3 separate regions of the Homo sapiens genome follow, and all the other regions are linked to region 2. The links are contacts of gene promoters, found by promoter capture Hi-C in blood cells and fetal thymus (Javierre and others, 2016). All regions are on one chromosome and are shown on one strand. Each heading gives the region's core, a stretch centred on a gene start or on the middle of the fragment in contact. The rest is flanking DNA. Distances are from core to core; before and after follow the strand shown. Region 1 has its middle 4.3 kb from the start of BTN3A2. Region 2 holds the start of BTN1A1 (butyrophilin subfamily 1 member A1). Region 3 holds the start of TRR-TCG4-1 (tRNA-Arg (anticodon TCG) 4-1).

What was found. Contacts are between HindIII fragments. The CHiCAGO score rates a contact against its expected background, and 5 or more counts as called.
Region 1: a contact is called between a fragment that was not itself captured here and the fragment with the promoter of BTN1A1 in region 2, in 13 of 17 cell types (megakaryocytes, erythroblasts, activated CD4 T cells and 10 more). The highest score is 14.9, in megakaryocytes.
Region 3: a fragment that was not itself captured here is called in contact with the fragment with the promoter of BTN1A1 in region 2 in 4 of 17 cell types (non-activated CD4 T cells, megakaryocytes, M0 macrophages and 1 more); the score reaches 6.1 in non-activated CD4 T cells.

The regions. Positions count from the first base shown.
Region 1 is chr6:26,358,666-26,363,059 of GRCh38, reverse strand. No RefSeq gene overlaps it. Among named protein-coding and RNA genes, the nearest start is that of BTN3A2, 4.3 kb to the left of the region's middle. RefSeq lists an enhancer at 1,985-2,034. The HindIII fragment of the contact is 3,727 bases long and covers 747-4,394 here.
Region 2 is chr6:26,497,231-26,501,789 of GRCh38, reverse strand. It overlaps BTN1A1 (butyrophilin subfamily 1 member A1), which reads right to left and starts at 1,487. Exons shown (of 8, transcript NM_001732.3): 1 at 1,432-1,487; 2 at 425-560; 3 at 1-200. The coding sequence starts at 503. The region is part of intron 1 of LOC107986583 (a long non-coding RNA gene); the gene reads left to right. RefSeq lists an enhancer at 69-198. The HindIII fragment of the contact is 5,298 bases long and covers 1-4,181 here.
Region 3 is chr6:26,296,701-26,301,709 of GRCh38, reverse strand. TRR-TCG4-1 (tRNA-Arg (anticodon TCG) 4-1) reads right to left here and starts at 2,033; the gene lies at 1,961-2,033. LOC124901287 (a long non-coding RNA gene) reads right to left here. Exons shown (of 2, transcript XR_007059520.1): 2 at 2,746-5,009. RefSeq lists a cis regulatory region at 4,263-4,790. The HindIII fragment of the contact is 1,637 bases long and covers 733-2,369 here.

The DNA.
Region 1 (4,394 bases), core at 1,361-3,860, 140 kb after region 2:
CCATTTACATTGTATTCTGTGGAATGATGACGCTATGATTACACAATATAGCCAGTCCTCATTAGAGAATCAGATGGTAGAAGACAAGGAGACCAGGAAGAAAGCTACTGTGACACTCCAGGCAAGAAATGATGAGGCCTTAGGGATGGAGGAGAGGGAAGAGGATTGATTATTATTCTTAATAATAGCTTATACTCACATAGAACCTACCGTGATGTTGGTATTGTGCTTAGAGGTTTACATGCATGAATAATACTTTTGCTTTGTGAAGTTCTGAGCAGAGAAGCCCACTAAGCTCTGCCTGGACTTCTGACCCACAGAAACTGAAGTGATAAAAGTGTACTGTTATTTATTTATTTATTTTTGAGGCAGAGTCTCGCTGTGTTGCCCAGGCTGGAGTGCAGTGGCACAATCTTGGCTCACTGCAACCTCCACTTCCTGGGTTCTAGCAATTCTTGTGCCTCAGCCTACCAAGTAGCGGGGATTATAGGTGTGTGCCACCACGCTGGGCTAATTTTTTATCTTTTATTTTTTGCGTTTTCAGTAGAGATGGGGTTTCATCATGTTGCCCAGGCTGGAAAAGTGTACTGTTTTAAACCACTAAGTTTGTGGTAATTTGTTATGCAGCAATAAATCACGAATGCATTAGGTAAGTGAAACACACAGTGGCAACAAACATGAATATAAAGAAGACAAAGAGAATAACTTGTGTTTCCAGCCCTGACCCGTTGCCTGGACTGCAAGCTTATTATTGACCTGCCTACTCTACATCTCCACGGGAATCTCTAGTAAGCTCCTCAAACCCAACATATTCAAAACTGACCTTTGGATTCTGTGCTGGCTCCTCCTCTGGCCTCCACAAGCGGTTTCTCCCTCATTTTCCCCATCTCAGTAAGTGGCAACTCCATCTGTACCGTTTCTTAGGACCAAAACCTTGTGGTCACCCTTGATGCCCTCCTTTTTCACACCCCACCTGTAAGTTTATCAGCAAAGCCTTTTTATTCTATCTTGAAAATAAATCCAGCATCATAACATTTTCATGGCTCCTCCCTGGTACAAGTCATCTGCATCTTTCCCCTGGATCACTGCAGTAGCTCCCAGCTGGGTCTTCAGGCCTCCATCCACCACCCCTACCCACAGCCCATCTTGGTCTAGCATGTGAAGTAACTTCTTAAAACATAAGTCAGTCCAGTCCTTTTTCTGCTCTAACCTTCCAGTGGCTCCCCTCTCAGAGGTAAAGCCCAGGTCAGCATGATGACTTTCAAGGCCATACATGATCTGGCCCTCAACCCCCTCTGGCCTTGTCACCTCCTCTTCTCCTGATCACCCTGTGTGCTCTGCGCACCCCAGCCTCATTGCTTTTCTTCACACAAACCACAGTGCTTCTGCCTCTGTGCTCTGGCACTGCTGTTCTCTCAACTCGGAATGCTTTTCTCCCAAGTATTCTGTGCCTCGCTCCCCTTGCTCATAACCACCCTATTTTAAACTGTAACTTCCAACCGGGAACGAGGGCTTACAGGTGTAATCACAGGACCTTGAAAGATCGAGGGAGGAGAATTGCATGAGGCCAGGAGTTCAAGAACCTGGGCAGTATGCATAGCAAGATCTCTGTCTTTCAAAAAAAAAAAAAATTAGGCTGCAGTGAGCTATGATCACTCCAATGTACTCTAGCCTGAACAACAGAGCAAGACCCCTTCAAAAAGAAATGCAAGTTCTGCTATTCCAGGTTTATTTCTCTCCTGAGCACTTATCATCATCCAGCACACCATATATATTACTAATTATTTCATTTCCTGTCTGCCTCCTACCACAAGTTATGTTGTTTTTGAATGAGAACTTTCTGTTTTGTTCACTTCTGTGACTCCACCACCTAGAATAGTGACTGGCACATAGTTAGCGTTCATGGATCCTTGTCAAATGAATGAATTAATGAATTGACCAAATAGAGAAGCCTGAGGGAAGCTGGGGTGGGGGCTCCCCGATGTGGGTGCAGAATTAGCCTGAGACAGGAGAAAGAACACCTGCTTGTTGAAATCAGAGGAAACAGATCATGAGGGACAGGTATAGGTGGTGGAGCAGGAAGTTTGGGACCTCCCTTTTCTATTTTCTCTCTGAGGTGGTAGACTGTGGCACCATCTGAGATGTGGGGAAAGGATGTGGTGATGAGGATAACGGCTAACGGTCACTATCACAGATACGCGCTGTGTTCGCACCAGGTGCTCTCCACACCGTATCTCATTCCTAAACATCTGCTAAAGAAGTAGATGTCATTAATTCTATTTCTAGGTGAGAAAAATAGAGTTGCAGAAAGGTCAAGGATCCTGTCCTGGTTTGTCTGAGTGAGTAGAATAGGGGTCACCCAGGTGTGTTGACCAGGGAGAGGAAATGGGTGCAGAGGCATGAAACTGCATGATATGTTTGGGACACTGCAGGTGTTGTGGTCAGGCTGAGGAGCAGCACATTGCCAGGATGTCCAAAGGTAGAGCAGAAGTAGGTGGCCTGGACCACTGAGTGCCTGCAATGCAGATAAAAAGTCCAAGGAGGCCGGGCGCGGTGGCCCACGCCTGCAATCCGAGCACTTTGGGAGGCCAAGGTGGGCGGATCACAAGGTCAGGAGTTCGAGACCAGCCTGGCCAATATGGTGAAACCCCGTCTCTACTAAAAATACAAAAATTAGCCAGGTGTGGTGGTGGGTGCCTGTAGCTCCAGCTACTCGGGAGGCTGAGGCAGGAGAATTGCTTGAACCCAGGAGGGAGAGGTTGCAGTGAGCTGAGGTCGCACCACTGCACTCCAGCCTGGGCTACAGAGTGAGCGAGACTCCGTTTCGAAAAAAAAAAAAGAAAAAGAAAAAGAAAAAGAAAAAAAAAAGTCCAAGAAAGCTGGACTTCATCTTTCAGGCCAGAGTTTCTTCAGCAGAGTTATGTAAAAAACTTGTTTAGACAAAAACTAATTTTTATAATACATCTGAAAATATGTCTTCTAACTACTGAAAGAGATGGGAACTAGTTAAAAAATGCAGCATTAAAAGTTAAAATTTGTTATTAGGGAAGTCATTGGTCACTGATATGATAAACAGTAGTTTCCTTGGAAACTGGAACCACTCCACAACAGTTGATTATAAAGATGTGAACCAGATGATATAGAGTCTGCTTAGGTTACAATTTTTAGATTTAAATTGGCATTAAAATAATTTTTTAAAATTTTAACATTTCTGTCCAGGCGTGGTGGCTCATTTCTGTAATCCCAGCACTTCGAGAGGCCGAGGCAGGCGGATCACTTGAGGTCAAGAGTTCGAGGCCAGCCTGGCCAACATGGTGAAACCCCATTTCTACCAAAAAATACAAAAATTAACTGGCCGTGGGGGCACATGCCTGTAGTCCCAGCTACTCGGGAGGCTGAGGTGGGAGAATCGCTTTAACCCCGTAGGCAGAGGCTGCAGTGAGCTGAGATCATGCCACTACACTCTAGCCTAGGTGACAGGGTGAGACCTTGTCTCAAAAAAGAAAAAAGAAAAGAAAAGGATGATTGTTGCTCTTGGTTGAAGGGAAGCAGGAGCCCAAGGGGTTAAGTGGTTTGCTGGTGGCTGCTGTTGAGAGAAGGGCCATGGTAAACTGAATCCCAGAGGTCTGCAATAAAAGAAGAAAGAGGCTGGGCGTGGTGGCTCATGCCTGTAATCCCAGCACTTTGGGAGGCCAAGGCGGGTGGATCACGAGGTCAGGAGTTCGAGACCAGCCTGACCCATGTGGTGAAACCCCGTCTCTACTAAATATACTAAAATTAGCTGGGTGTGGTGGTACATGTCTGTAGTCCCAGCTACTTGGGAGGCTGAGGCAGGAGAATTGCTTGAACCTGGGAGGCGGAGGTTGCAGTGAGCCTGGGTGTACTCCAGCCTGGGTGACAGAGTGAGACTCTATCTCAAAATAATAATAATAATAAATTAATTAATTAATTAAAAAATAAGAATGAGCCTCCTCTATTGGGAAAGGTCATCCTCTTTGAGCACACAGTTTTGAGAGGGAGAAACTTCCTAATGCTCAGCAGCAAATTTTTTCTATTGCTTAGCCCCAGGCCCCCTCACAATGTGAGGTTTCGTCACATTGGCCAGGCTGGTCTTGAACTCCTGACATCAAGTGATCCGCCCACCTTGGGCTCCCAAAGTGCTAGGATTACAAGCATAAGCCACCACGCCCAGCCGGATCATTTAAGGATATATGAGTAGCTGCACTCACCCCCTTGTTAGAACCTCCAAAAAAGTTCCTTATTTTTCTCATTTTCCAGAATAAAAACAAATTACTTTTAAAATCAGAAAACTCATAAACAGATTACTATTTTAAGGATTAAATCGTCATCCCAGGACAAAACCTGGGTAGCCATAGGCAAATCACTTCCTCTCT
Region 2 (4,559 bases), core at 238-2,737:
CCCGCGGTACTCGGGCATCTGCTCGGCTTCCTGCTCGCGCCCGTCCCTATGCACCAGCACGGCCGGCGAAACCTTCTTTCGGAACCAGCGTAGCTCCAAGTGCTCGGCGCTCGCGTTCGGAGACAGGCGACAGGGCAGCTCGGCGTCCTCACCCACAACGGCCAGGATGGGCTCCGGGGGTCCAATCACGTCAAAGGGAGCTGCCGAAAAACGAGCGGGATCAGACGGGATGTGGAGATGGGAACTACGGACAGACACCGACCAGATTCCCGCCAAAGCGCAGTGCCCCGCGCTCTCTTACTCCTTTGACAGCTGAGTTTGTCTGGATCCAGTGGAGGTCTCCAGGGAGAGCCAAGTGGGATTGTTTATTTTACATTTATTGATATATTTCAACTATGCAGCCCAGAGAGAGAGAGAGACTTACCTGAATCCAGTTTGGGCAGCTGGAGGAGAATGAGGGTGAGCAGACATCTGGGGAGACCGGAGCTTGGGAAAACTGCCATCTCCCACCCTTCTGGAGCAGCAAGATAACTGATGTGAGTCCCCTCAGGAGCTTCAGCCTAGGAGATGAATGGACAGGAGACAACTACCGGCTCTGTCAACCCTCCGCTTTCCAAAGTCCTCTCTACAGTTCTTTCCAGCTGCAAGTGTTCTGGTCATTTGCCCCTGAAACCTCCTCTCAGCCTCCATCCCCAGTATGGATTTTTAGTTTACACTGTGGTTATCACCTTCCCACCCACTACTCTAACTCTAAAACTTAGGAGAAGGGAACTGTGAGGCATAACACTCATTAGTTGGTTGCATATCGATGAACAAATCTTGGAATCACTGCACTAAAAAAAAAGTCTCCTTTTTATTTATTTATTTATTTATTTTTGAGACAGTCTTGCTCTGTTGCCCAGCTTGGAGTGCAGTGGCATGATCTCGGCTCAATGCAACCTCAGCCTCCTGGGTTCAAGCGATTGTTCTGCCTCAGCCTCCGGAGTAGCTGGGACTACAGGCGCGCACCACCATGCCCCGCTATTTTTTGTATTTTCAGTAGAGACGGAGTTTCACCACGTTGGCCAGGCTGGCCTCGAACTCCTGACCTCGTGATCCACCCGCCTTGGCCTCCCAAAGTGCTGGGATTACAGGCGTGAGCCACCGTGCCTGGCCAAAGTCTTTTTTCAAATACAAGAATTTGGTATTTGCTTTTGGCAATGATAATAAAGATAAGGGTATAAAGGCAGAAATGGAGTCCAAGGAAATGAATTGGAGAAGAGAGAAAAGATGGGAGGAGATGGAGCAAGAAGCAGGAGCTGAAGCAAGCAAAAGGGCTTGAAGAGTAGAGGGCCTAGGACCAAGGAGAAAGGAGCTGGAGGGAGAGAAGTATGCTATGCCCCTCTGGCTGCTCACTCCCTCAGGGAGCTGAGAGTAACCACACATACTGACCTGGGTGATCTTGGAGAAAAAGGCACAAGAGGCCACTGCTACCAAGTGAGAAAGCTGGCTGTGGCCCCCGGGGCAAAAGTTAAAAGCCAGCAGGAAAAGGAAGCGGGAGGTGCTCTCAGGAAAGCCTGCCTCCAGGTGGCCTGGTATATTCACTCTGAGGAAAAAAAAAAGGGAGATGAAAAGTTTTTCAGAGAGATGGAAAACTGGATTTGTGGTCTTCAGCTCAGAAATCAAGATATGCATTGATGAGCTGGACCAAATGAAAGGCAGAAAAGAGAAAAAGAGAAGAGAGGCAAGGAAACACACAAATGAGATGTGATGGCTTCAGCCAGTTATTTCCTCTTTCCAAGCCTCAGTTCTTTGATCTCTAAAATGGTAATAATATTGATCATACCTTTCTTGAAGAGGTGTTGGGAGGATTAAGTGAGATTAAGCAGGTAAAGTGCTTAGCACATAGTAGGAACTCAGCGGAGGATAAATTGTTATTCTATTATTATTTCTGCGGGTTGAAAAATGAAAGCCCAGAGGCCAAGGTAGCAGTAGCCTCTGTCTATAGCCATCTTCGTTATTGGAGCGTCCGTCCACCTTAGGTGCTGTGTCTGTTGGAACAACTCCATTAAAGGCCAGTCTTAAGGGTAGGCTGTGAATTCTGTTTACAGGGCCCAAAAGTTGCCTCCCTGACAATTATTTCTTTTGAAGCAACTCATCATGAGGCCTACAATTCCTTAATTTATACTAAACCTACCTCTCATTGTTATGAAAAAATTTAAAAATACAGAAAAATATTTTTATAAAATGGAGGTCACACTTAATCTACTAACTAATGATAGCCTCAATTCACATTTTGGCATAGTCCTTCCAAGATTTATTTTATGCTTATGTATATCATAAAAGCAATCAATTAGACTTTTTGTGTAACTCAAAATATTGTTAATAGTTGTATAATTGCCATGATTGTGGGACATTTGGGATTTTTTTCCTATTGTAAATAATACACTTTATATATAAGTCTTTATTTGCAAATTGGATAATGTCCTGATAAACTGTTTAATAAATTTCCAGAAATAGAGTCATCAGATCAAATGGTATAAGCATATTTCTTTTCTTTTCTTTTTTTTTTTGAGACGGAATCTCACTCTGTCGCCTAGGCTGGAGTGCAGTGGCGTAATCTTGGCTCACTGCAACCTCCGCCTCCAGGGTTCAAAGGATTTTCCTCTTGCCTCAGCCTCCTGAGTAGCTGAGATTACAGGCACGTGCCACCATGCCCAACTAATTTTTGTATTTTAGTGGAGACAGGGTTTCACCATGTTGGCCAGGCTGGTCTCGAACTCCTGAGCTTCAATGATCTGCTTGCCTTGGTCTCCCAAAGTGCTGGGATTACAGGTGTGAGCCACCATGCCCGACCTAGTATCAGCATATTTCTACAGTCCCTTCCTGAAATGTTGAATCCATCACACCCTCAATGGAGGTGCCCTCACCTAATCCCTGCTAGCACTGAGAAGTTATTATTTCACATCCTTACTATTGGGATGGGTCAAGTTAATTAAATTATTATTTATTGTGCCTTTATATGTTAGCGAGGCTGGAGTTTTTTATGTGTTAATTAGACATTTAATACATTCTAGAAATGAGCTGTTCAGGCCAGTTGCCCATTGTTTTCAAGACTGGTCCTGGTGCTAGTTCTTAGCAATCTGTGTGAATTTTAATAACTTAAAAATATCAATCCTGTATTATATTTGTAACAAACATTCTTCCCAGTTTTGTTATTTATCTTTGAGTTGGAATTGTGATTAAGACAAAAGACAGTTGCTCCATTTCACCCACCAGACTGCCAAGAGAATGATCTTTCCCAAATGCAAATCTGATCATATCACTTTTTGCTTAAAAATCCTTCCACATCTCCCTAGTGACTTCAGCATCAAGTTTATGCACCTTAATCTGGTTAGGAAAATACTGTAGGTCTAGCTTGATCTGGTCAAGAAAATACTCTGGCAGTCTCCTTGCTTCTTTCCTGAGGGCTTTTTCTCCATTCCCCTTCTCCTTCCCTGCTTGTCCACCCACAGGCTGAATTTGGAGTGGGTGTGGTTACCTCAACCCACAATGCCTCTCAGGCCTCCAGATAGCAGTGCTTGCCTTCCCCCTTCCAGAATATTCTGTCTCTTCTTAACTTTTTTTTTTTTTTTTTTTTGAGATGGAGTCTCACTTTGTCACCCAGGCTGGAGGGCAGTGGCACAATTTCAGCTCACTGCAACCTCTGACTCCCAGGTTCAAGCATTTCTCCTGCCTTAGCCTCCCAAGTAGCTGGGACTACAGGCGTGCCCCACCACGCCTGGCTTTGTTGGTATTTTTGGTAGAGGTGGGGTTTCCCAATGTTGGCCAGGCTGGTTTTGAACTCCTGACCTCAAGTGATACACCCGCCTCGGTCTCCCAAAGTGCTGGGATTATAGGTGTGAGCCACCGCGACTAGCCTGTTCCCTCTTATCTTTATGATGAACTCCTATTCTTCCCTCAAAAGCTCATGTAAGGGCTGCACCTTCTGCAATGTCTTTCAGACATTGCATCAAGCAGATGCAACCTCACTTCTAGGGCTTCTCCTGATTAGCCTTTGTCCCCTCCAAGAGAAGTAGGCTTTCCTGGAAGATGGGCCAGGTGTATCCTGTGACACTTGGTCCCTTTCTCATGGCAGACACCTGATCTGAGCCCTAGTTTCAGAAGCAGATGTGTTTATTGTCATCTTTTGTTTCCAAGCTTGTCTTCCCCTCTTAAACTGAGCTTTCCTAGTTCTTACTCCCTGTCTTCTCATCAGCACATAGACTGAAATAGAATTTGTGGCTTCATTCAAACCCATCGTTCCTTAGCCTTCCTAGTTTGAAAGGCTCCTGTCCCATTTTCCTCTTCATGCTTAACTTTCTGATCATATCACCTATAATCTATTTCCCCTTCCTCATTTCACTTCTCTTATCAGCCCCTTTCAATGATACTTTTGTCTCATGCTTCATATTCTCATAAGACATTGTTTTCAGGGGGGAAAAAGAGCTTTTACTTGCAACTAACGGAGCCATACTGAAAAGAAAGGGTCTGGGGGAAAGAAGAAGAAAGTACTTGGAGCTCAAGCTATTGCATAACAG
Region 3 (5,009 bases), core at 302-2,801, 200 kb after region 2:
TTGTTTTATTAGTTATTGTTGTTAATCTCTTAAAATGCCTAATTTATAAATTAAACTTTATCATATGTGTGTATGTATAGGAAAAAACATGGTGTATATAGAGTTCAGCACTATCCAAGGTTTCAGGCATCCACTGGGGTCTTGGAACATAACTCCTGTAAATAAGGGGGGCTACTCTATTAAATTCATGAATCTCTTAATCCCCTGTGCAACTGGACCCAACTCCCAGTGTTTGTGATACACATCTAGAAATCTTTCTTCTTGATTTATTTTCTTCCAGTTGCTTTTTTTTAATCCAGCTCCAAAAGATGTTTTTCATGTTATTTATTTATTTATTTTCTGAATCCCACTCTCAAAGCAGAAAGGCTTACACATTCATCAAAGGGTGCATATATTTTTATTTGGTGGATTTGGGACAAGTTCCTAAATCACGGTGACCATTTAAGACTCAGGATGTCCACAGATTTCCCTATCTTTTTCAGTTTTCTCCCTTTTGGCACTTCCCAGTCTGGAAAGTCTCTCTCCTCCTTTTGGCATTCTTTGCTATCAGTGCAGTAGAGAAAGAAAGAAAAAGAAGAGAGAAAGGGTTATGACAGGCAAATTTTTATATTCTTGCATCAGAATTTCCACTTTCATTAAATGCTTGAGGGAGGCTGTGGGGCCCCTGGAAAAAGTCTTGTTCATCCTCTGGTACACAGGGTTACATACTGATCAGAGAGAGAGGAGGAAGCTTTTTCCTGTTCTTAGAATCAAGAAAAAAGGTGGGCTATGTAATTCTCAAGTATCACTGTATTCATTTTAAAAGGTTACTCTTCTTTTGAGGTTATATCCTTTTTCTAGTTTATAAAAGGATGCTCAGTGCAAATGGTGGGTTTTGCCATTAACAAGGCAGAACATGGTTTTGCATGACATTAGGACATTGACACTTTCTAATCCAATAAATTTCAAAGTCTGGAAACCAATGCTCAATCCCCACATTTTTTATACAACTTGGAATCTACAGATGACTAGAGGAAACCAGAATCAAACAGAGCTATGGAAGAAGCTGGGGACAGGGAGAGGTAATTATTACTAATTTTAATATTCTTTGCTTTGATCTAGAAACACACTTATGGACTCCATGTGATTTGAATCAATGATCTCATCTGGATGGAGTCAAATGTCTTATGTTTCATCATGATGTCAGCAATTGGAAATTACTTTTCCTTAATCCTAAATTATTATTAAATTCAGGCACACAAAATGTTATTTAGGAATACAAAATGTTTTTTATATATTTTGCACAGCTGTGTTCCCTGTCTTTTCCTGTTTGCACACACACACTGTAACCAGTTGGACTATTTTAATTACCTTTATATTTTTGCTTTGCAATATAAAATTCAATATTAGGTATTCTCATCCTTTTGATGGCAACACACCCACAACAAAAAAGTTAAAATGGAGAGTAAGAACTAGTAACATAGGCTTCAGCAGCTGCCAAAACTCCTTGGTACACGCGGATGTAGACTAAAAAAGAAATGTGAAGAGTTTTTGGCCTAGTGCTAAATCAGAAGAAGCAACAGGTTTCCTACTGTGCTAGCCACTGGGGCCTGGCATTAGTCTGAGACGCTACAGTTTGAGACAGCTTGGCTTATAGATCTGAATTTCTTTTTTTCAAGGAATTGAATCCTTGAATTGAATCTAAGCCTACAAAACCGAAACGCAGGTGCTTAAAATCCAAACTTGGGGAGAACCTGACAGCTCCAAAGTAGTAGATGGCTGTATTTCAGTTTTGACTTTCCAGTCTTTCTTCACTCTGTCACTTGTTCTCCTAAGGCCTTTGAGAATGTCTCCTTCTTCCCTTTAAAGGAGAGGAGATGGAAGAAAAAAAGGATTCAGAAAACCCAGAGAGTGTATGATTTATTTTTTTCTTGGAATGAAATGGGTAATAAAATTTTCATGCCCGAAAACGAACCCCACTTAACCACGAAGGGATTCGAACCCTCAATCTTCTGATCCGAAGTCAGACGCCTTATCCATTAGGCCACGTGGTCCCCCGCAGTTCCGTTGTTGCTGCAATACTTAGAAAATAAAACGAGCTTCCCCCCACCCGCCCCCTCCAACCCCCCGTGTTGGCATCTACAGCGCCCGTGTTTTCGCCAATGAGAAAATGAAAACTTTAGATTAGGTGGGATATTTGGGGCCACAGAATCGGGATTTATAAACGGTTGGTATCGACAATTATTTTAGTCTTGTGGTAATATAACTACTCCTTGGAGAGAAAAGTCGTTTGTTCTGACTCCCAAGGCAGAAGAAGCGGAGTTTATGGCATCTAAAAGATGCTAAAATTCTGCATATTGTCTGCATCGAAGGATATGTTAAAATAAGCTTACTCAAGGTTTCTTCCCTATGATGCTCATCCACATTCACCATTTACAGACTAGGTTCTTGCAGGGTCTGCCCAGATAGTTGTTAAGAAAACTGTACCTGGAAGGCAGTTTTACCACAAGGCAACATCTGTACCGTGGTCTTTCTCGCCATCCTGCATGGATATCTGCAGACCCCGGAGACAATTACCCCCTCTCCATGCTGTTCTGGTACTTTCTCTGATTGTGATAATGTGATATCAGAGCACTTTTCGTGGTATGGTTCTGTTTAGAAAGGAAAGAAAATACTTTCCTTGGGGTTTCTCAGGAGTGCCGAGCGGACTAGAGCCATTACCAGTTTTTGAGGTTCCCATATATTAAGAAGTGAAGGAACACGAAATAGAAATGCAAAAATTTTTATTATTAACAATTTTTACATTTAATAGATGAATCAACACGAAAATGTAATGCATTAGCATCATACTATGGAGAAGATATTTATAGAATTTATAATGTTCCGTAGCGCTCTTGGCCCCATCATGGCATATAAAGTTCTATTTTGTGTGGCTTCTTTCAAGCCTGTCAGTGAATCTCTGTGAAGTCAAGTACTTCATTTGAAGATAATGTCAACAGCCTACATATAAGACATTTCCTTAATTTTCCTAAACCCCAGATACTGGGAATAATGGCTCTCCTGGCTCATTTGTGATAAGTCTTGGTTTCTCTTGGTTAGCAAATATAGCGGCTTCTGGTGCATAGAAATTGGGCCTTTTACATAGTCTTTCTTTCCCTATCCATAGAATAACATCTGACAAATAGTAGGAGCTCAATAAAAATATGCCGAATTTCTCATTTATTTTCGAATTCTGCAATCATCTTCAATGTGAGAATTATTATTATTATTATTATTATTATTATTATTATTTTTGAGACAGAGTCTCACTCTGTGGCCTAGGCTGGAGTGCAGTGGCACCATCTCAGCTCACCGAAACCTCTGCCTTCCAGGTTCAAGCGATTCTCCTGCCTCAGCCTCCCAAGTAGCTGGGATTACAGGCGCCCACCACCAATGCCTGGCTAATTTTTGTATTTTTAGTAGAGACGGGGTTTCACTATGTTGGCCAGGTTGGTCTCGAACTCCTGACCTGAGCTGATCCTCCCACCTTGACCTCTCAAAGTACTGGGATTACAGGCGTGAGCCACCACGCCCGGCCAATGTGATAATTATTTAACAATATTCTTCTATTCTGCAAAAATCTTTGTTGCTCTCTCTTTCTCCTTCCTGGAGAAGATTGATTGAAAGGCTATTATAATATCTGGATGACCCATAAACCATTATGGGTAGTGTTTGTAGAAGTATCAAGGAGTGGTTGAATTCTGGGTATGTTTTAAAGGGTTTGTGATTAAATTGGTGTGAAATAAATAGAAAAGTCATATATATCTCCAGTTTCTTTTGCTGTAACAACACAGTTTGCATTTACTGAGACAGGAATGACTTCAGAAAGAGCATTTTGAGAGTGGAGTGTGTATGTGTGTGGTGGGGATCTAGAATCTGTTTCAGCATTTACTTCAAGTTGTGTATTGAACATTCAAGTGGAGATGACTAGTGTGGAGTGGTCAGATTTAAATAAATATATACAGTCCCAAACTTTCCCTTTCCCAAGTTAGAAAAGAAGTGACTTGCTGAAAAATAAACCAATCAAGGACCAGATCATAAACATGAAAACTCTAAAGACTTTTTTCCTTTATTTCCCCCCTTATTGATTGATTGATTGATTGCTGCACCTCCTGGAATGGGACAGAGACTTTTTTTTCTCAGAAGAGAACTGGAATAATATTCTTTGCTCACAATTGGTCAGTGGTTTCCTATTGCCCACTGAAAAATAAAATCCAAGTGTTTGCCTTGTATACTCACGCCCTTATGACCTGTTCTTTCCCTTTTTGTTCTGCCATAACTCCAAACCAATTTTAGGTATTGTAAGACCTAAAATTTCAACTGCTGCCTTGAGATTTTTGACCCTCACAGAGCTCCCCAAAAATGCTTATCCACAAATTCCCCTGTCTTGATAGCTATGACTCCCACAAGCAGGAAAGGTTCCCTACTTGTCCAGTTCCCTTATCTGACAGACCAGCTGCATCTCACTCAGGCCTCAACCTAATGGGTTTCGTCTCACTGCCAGTCCCTAAAACTGTTAAAGCAAGCCAACTACATTCTCTGGAGGGAACCAGGAGTCACCCAACCCTCTGATGACTACAAAGCCTACCTCTCACAGCCCCTAATGGTTCATTCTGTTCCTGAGTGCAAACCTTCTGTGGCCTTGCACGGTATGCAGTGCCCTCTTTTTTCCAGGCTGTGAGTACATATGACTAATAAATTTCTGCCAGTCTCATTTATTCAGTGTTGAGGTCATGTGTCCAGCCTTCTTACTATTTAGGGCAGGAGAATTTATTGTCTTTCAACAGGTGCACAGGAGGTGATCGGAACACAGCCACTTTTCTCTCCAAATCCCTCTCCCTCACATGACCTCACCTCCATACTTCATCACACTGAATTATTTGTAGTTCCTTAAAAACCTTTAACTATTATGCTTCCTTATATTTATTTCTTTTTGCTAGAGTGCTCTTCTCGGCTATATGGCAAGTTCTTACTCATTCAAGTTTTGGCTC